Regions from separate parts of the Homo sapiens genome. Here region 2 is linked to region 1. Evidence: promoter capture Hi-C in 16 types of primary human blood cells and fetal thymus (Javierre and others, 2016). All regions are on one chromosome and are shown on one strand. Each heading gives the region's core, a stretch centred on a gene start or on the middle of the fragment in contact. The rest is flanking DNA. Distances are from core to core; before and after follow the strand shown. Region 1 holds the start of OTP (orthopedia homeobox). Region 2 overlaps HOMER1 (homer scaffold protein 1).

Region 1 (2,853 bases), core at 66-2,565:
AATCAAGTTGGGAGTAGTAAATATCAGTTTTCATTGTGACTGGGTAGAGGGCATTTTTCTTGTGTTGCAAATAAAAATACAAGTCAAATAACTTTAAAAGGGCATTATGTTCTGCTACAAATACAATTGAAACGGATTGTTTAGGAGCAGATCAGAAATGGTACAGAATTTTGCACTTAATTTCCTCAGTTATCATTTACAATAAGAACCTCTAGGCTTGACAGCCAAGTCTAAACAGTAGTAAATTAGTACAAATTTATACTGATTTTACTCTAATAATCGTAATAAAAGCTTATAGATTTGGCACTAATTACATAAATGCCTAATGATCTTGAAAATTACTCTGGTTAGAAATATATTACTAATCTAAACTTTGTTGTTGGCTGGCTCTGAAAAATCAGAACATTAGAAATGGTTCGCTTCACTTGTGCAAAGCACTTTAAATTGTTCAAGTAGTTTAACATATTCAAGAGGAAAATAAAGAGCATTTAACTTTATTTACAGCCTTAAGTGGAGTTGGGAGCCGAGCTGAACTTAGAAACTTTGACCAAAAGAGCGAGTTAGGGGCGAGGATGCGGGCGTGGGCCAAGCGGAAGAGCAGGAGCCGGGAAGAAGCCCGGTGAGAAGAGTGCAGAGCGCTCGAACCCACACTCCGCGAGGGTCCCCAAAGCAGACAGCGGGCGCTGGCGGTGCCAGGGAAGCCGACTCCTCTTTGCGCTCTAGGCCCACTGTGGGGTTGGGGCTCGTATAGACCCCAGGGCACAGCCAGGGCGCCTGGACCCTAGGCGCAGGCCTACTGAGCCGCGGCGAAGTCCAGGCGTTGTCTGAAGGCCGCGGTGTGCCCTCGTCGCGCCCTGGGCTGGCGGGCCAATATGAGCGGCAGGCCCAGAGAGCGCAGGTGGGGGCGACCCTCAGGTCACGCCAGGGTCATGGCCCGCTCTGACCCCTGCTCTGCCCCTGCCCTAGGAAGATGTTAGCTCAGAGGCACAGAGCTACGCCTTCGAAGCGCGCAGCGCCGGCCAAGGGGAAGGAAAGGGGAGCCTGGAGAAAATCGCAGGGAAGAACTAGAGGGAGCCGGGCCCAGAAGCTCAGGGCGAGGCCGAGGCGGCTGAGGCTGCTTTAGCTCCTGCTCCGGGCTGGAGCTGCCAGGGCTGCCGCCGCCGCCTCCTTCAGGCGGGCGCAGGCGAGCGGGCGGGCGGAGTGGGGGACTCTCCGGGCGCTGACATTTGCAGGCTGCCCTCCTGATTGGTCCCCTCGCCGAGCTGCTCACGGGTTCATTCAACTGTTAAGCACCTCCCCGTCTCTCTAAAGGACATTATAATGCAAGAAGCCCCCTTTTTAACCACAAACCGAATTTTCTTTCATTTAGGTGATCTATATATATCTATATCGTATAGCTTATAGCTTATATCTATTTTAAATAACTTAAAGCCGCTAAAATTTGGGGGGGAACAGCTTTCGCCCTGGAGCGGTGCGCGATGCTGTCTCATGCCGACCTCCTGGACGCCAGGCTAGGTGAGTGCGCGCCTCTCGCCCGGGCAGCCAGGAGAAGCCGGGGCAGGAAATTGTCAATTTGTTCCTTATTTTACCTTAATGCGACCTAAATGGACTAATTTCTTTAAAAGTAATTGTGCTGCATTAAAGTTTAATTTGATTTAACATCGCCTTTAAAAAAAAATCTATGGAATATGTAGATCCAAGAAAGGAGTTGGGGAATGTTGTTACTTTTTGTTTTTCTTATTTTTCTCTTCCCCCCTCCCCCGCCTTTTTTTTTTTTTCGAAAGGCGATATACCCCGTGATAATTTGTTAGGAGGTGTTTCTCTCTCTTTTTTCCCTCTCCTGTTTGTTTTGATTTGGGATTTCTTTCTCCTTCCCTCCCCCCGTTTCTCTCTCCCCACCATCTTCTTCTCTCCTCCTTTTCTAAGTGTGGTGTAATTTGTAAAAAATCTGGCATAAAGGAGAAGCTGCTGCCATCAAGGCGGATTTGCTAAGTGTGCTGGTTGAGAAGGAGAGAAGCCAAATTCAACCTCACAGTCATCCCCCCCTCTTCTGCAAGGGACTCAGCGTTGCCAATGGCTGTGAGGAATGCGCCTTTTATTTCTCTGGAAAGAAAAGTTGAAATCTCTAAAGTTTGATTCACGGTTGTCCATAGAGTTCACTCGAGTTTCCTTAATGCTATCTGGGTTGCTGAGCTCTGGGTTTCCGGATTGGGAATCTTCGGTGATGGATGTGACTCCATTTTCCAAACACTTTCTCTGATTTGAGGGGGAGGCGGAGCTGATTTGGGTTGATTTCGGGGGGTGAAAGCTTGGAGGCTTATTCATCTTCCGAAAGTAAGAGGGAATCGGCTGAGGGCCGGAGGTACAGTTCGTCAGGCTGCCGAAGCGCAGGTGCCGCAGCAACCGAGGAATTGTTTAATTTTCTTTCTGCCCCCCGCACCCCTGTGTCCAAAGATTTGCTCTCGATTTCCTGGGGCGCCTGGGGTACGGTTTATGGAAGGGATTCAGAGGCATGTTTTATTGCCGGGACTGGGAGTGTTTTATTGTGGGAGAGACGAAAGCTTGTGCTGTTTACTACGGGAGCCGGCTGCGGCGAGGGCAAGGGGCCGGGAGATATTATTCCAACCCGGCTGTCCAAATTCTGGGGAACCCAGCTGAATACCCTGGGAGTTTCTTCCTTAGGACAAGCGCGGGTGCGGAGGGGGCCGAGGACGGGTTGAAGGAAGGCTGCGCGGGGAAGACAGCCCCTCCTGGCATCGCCAAGAAAGTAGTGACCGCGATCCCCTTGCCTCCTCAGGTATGAAAGATGCCGCCGAGCTTCTGGGCCACCGGGAGGCGGTGAAGTGTAGGCTG
Region 2 (3,024 bases), core at 494-2,993, 1.9 Mb before region 1:
GTTTGCACTTCGAGGAGATTTTCCTGTGTAGTTTTTTTCCTAATGTGAGCGCAGGGAAGCCGTGGCATTACTGCTTTTGGGATTTTTATTCACGTGCACGTCGCGTTTGGTTGCTCGCTCCACCCCCGGAGACCTGGTGTGGTGGAGAAATTTGAACCCGCAGCCTTAGCTCCGAAAAGGCCGAGTTACCTGGCTCTCCCTGAGTGTCGAGGAGGACATGAGTGAAATGACCAGCGAACTCATTTTTTATAGGACTCGGTGAAGCCGGATTCTGCATTTCCCTACTTGTAGACTCATTTTGTGGAATAGAGTTGATCGCTGTCTCCTCCGCAAAGCATTTTAACTCGAATAAGCAAATGCCGCCTCTGTTTGAACGTTTTGGTATTTACAAGAGAGAAATCATTTTACCTAAGAGAACTAATTGAATTGGCAGCATCCTTGAAATACCTCCGGACAAGGATCTGGGGGTGGGGGTGGAAAAGCAACTGCGAAATAGCAGACGGAGAAATTCCTTTGGAAGTTATTCCGTAGCATAAGAGCTGAAACTTCAGAGCAAGTTTTCATTGGGCAAAATGGGGTAAGGATTTTTGTGCTTAACACAGCTTCGAATCTGTTTATGTATGTGTATTATTGAGCGGTGGTGGTGATTGTGTTTTGTGTTTTCAAACAAACTTGCCACCTTGCTAAGCTGGTCATACTTTAAAGAAATAGGCATGCTAACCTTTTAGGTTATTTTTGCATTTTTGTAGAGCGGTACCAGAGGTCATAATTTAAAAACACATATATCGTTTGTAACTTGAATATGGATTTGTGAGTAATGTTTACAAAGACAACGCATTCTACACTTTACTGGTCAGACTGCTGCATCAGTTTGTAATCAAAATCACATTATTTTAGCTTTTGCTGACGGTTATCTTTCAAAGAGAAGTACTGCATTCTCTCAGTACTTTTAGATAATCAGTTGCACAAAGGAACGATTTTAATGAGTGGTTAGACAACAGTCCTTGAAAGTGATCCAGAGTAAATTGTTGCCCTCACCGTGCCCTCTGTCTTGTCCTTGAATATTCAAAGCTAAAATGTATAGAATTGATTTACTGGGGCGTTAAAACGAAAATCTGAAATTCAGTCTTACTGATGCGGTCACCACGGTACGGGTGCATTTCGTAGGAAAAAGCTTTTTGTTTAAGGAACTTGTTCACTCCTTTTGTTTTTCGCTTTTAAGCTCAGCCCTTCAGTTTGAGTTAACAGTATCAGATCTACACCTTCCTTCGGACCCAGAGCCAACTGAGAGTGCATTTTCCAGTCTTTTATTAACTCTTCACACTGTGGGTTGATGAAATGCTAGTGACACTTCCTAATTTAAGCTGGAAACCCATAATATATTAATGGAGCAATCTGATTTCATTGACAGGTTGTCACTGCTTTTTGGCAGAAGAACTTCCAGAATTTTCTCTTTTTGTGTGTGTGTGGTTGAACAAACACATCTGAAGTGTAGTTGAGGGGCATGTTTTAAAGAATGGACTCTGCAATTCATCGTGATGGTTTAGGTGTGTACACACGCTTGAAACTTTCTGAGGAAAGTTCTTGAATAGTACCTTCCTTTTGGAGTTAGAATTTGAAGTTTAACATGCATAACTTTGAAAATTTAGAGCATGTTGTAGGAGACGTTCCTCAGAAATTAATGACAAAGTTATAATGGTTTTAAAAACTTGAATGACAAGTGATGAGAATATATATAACTTGCATGATTTGGGGGTACCGCTAAGAGTAATTAAAATACCTCATTCTATTTCTAGCGCTGCTATTAGTAGCTTAGTGATCTGAGGCAAATTACTTGACCTCTGTGGACTCTATTTCTTACCTGTAAAATGAACGATTTAGAGATGACTTAAAGATTTCTCCAAACTGTAAAAAACGAATTGCTTTCTTTTTATTCTCCTCCTCATTTTAATGATCACTAGTTGGTTTCTGCAAGTCGATCTTTCTGATGGAGACCTTTTTCACTCTAAGCAGTTTAAGCGCTTAACGCTGAAAAATAATGGCATTTGAAAAATGTTTTGGATGAATTGCACCAATTTTAAATGAGAAAAATACTGAAAAATACTACTGTTCAAAACCTTAGAAATATGGCTTCCCTTGAGCATCTGCAGCTCTGTTTAAAACATGTTGGAGGAAAAAAAATCAAGCAGCAGTTTTTCATGTTGATGGCTGCATTTTGTCTAGACTGTGGAGTAGTAGCATCATGGAAGAAAATCAGTTTTCCAGAACCTTTAAGCTGCATGAATGCCTGTCATTTTACCAAGGGAAGCTTAGGATGAATTTTTTTTTCCCTGCCTGAGGTTTCTTTGTACAAATAGCACAGGAGGACCCCAGCCCCACAGCCCCATGCAGATGGCAGCCTGGCGGGGGGTCGCACCAGTCCTGTCCTCACGTTGGCAGATAGAGATATCTACTCTGAAGCCTCTGTAGGGGCCTGGGCACCTTTGGGAGCCTGAGCTGGAACTGAAGCTGGAGCTGCAGCCTGGGCCTTGGTTTGATCCTTGTCCTTGGCCTTTGGCCAGCACACCCTGAGCCCCTTGGCAATGCGGGCACGAGCATGCTTCCCAAGCTTGGGGTGGACAGTGTAGGCAAGTTGAGCTTGCGGCTGACACCCTTTGGGATCTTGGGCTTAACCTCCTTGGGCTTTAGGAGGGCCTTGATAGCCTTGGCATGTGCACTCATGGCCTTGGCACTGTTAGCCTGCATCTTCTTTAGGCCCTTCTTGTTGTGTTTCTTGGCAAACTGCATGTTCCTCAGGAACTTGGGGTCCACCCCCTTAAGAGATTCGTATCTTTGTGCTTCGGGTTTCTTGATACCATTTCTGTGCCATTTTTGGGACTGGTTGTGTGTGGTGTGGTTCTTGGACTTGGCCATGTCTGCACCTTAAGGCGCGGCTCCTGAAGCGCCTAGAATCTGAAGAGACAGGATGAATTTAATACTAAGGGGGCTGTTGTTTAAAGTGGGAAAGTTAGCACCACACATAAC

Evidence for each region. The method cuts DNA at HindIII sites, captures the fragments that hold promoters and counts their contacts. A CHiCAGO score of 5 or more calls a contact.
Region 2: a contact is called between a fragment that was not itself captured here and the fragment with the promoter of OTP in region 1, in 2 of 17 cell types (total B cells and naive B cells). The highest score is 17.5, in total B cells.

The regions. Positions count from the first base shown.
Region 1 is chr5:77,637,175-77,640,027 of GRCh38, reverse strand. OTP (orthopedia homeobox) reads left to right here and starts at 1,315. Exons shown (of 3, transcript NM_032109.3): 1 at 1,315-1,515; 2 at 2,798-2,853. The coding sequence starts at 1,479. RefSeq lists enhancers at 218-772, 773-1,329. The HindIII fragment of the contact is 2,017 bases long and covers 294-2,310 here.
Region 2 is chr5:79,510,323-79,513,346 of GRCh38, reverse strand. HOMER1 (homer scaffold protein 1) reads left to right here. Exons shown (of 9, transcript NM_004272.5): 1 at 1-577. The coding sequence starts at 573. It also overlaps the pseudogene RPL29P15. Among named protein-coding and RNA genes, the nearest start is that of HOMER1, 2.3 kb to the left of the region's middle. The HindIII fragment of the contact is 1,134 bases long and covers 1,177-2,310 here.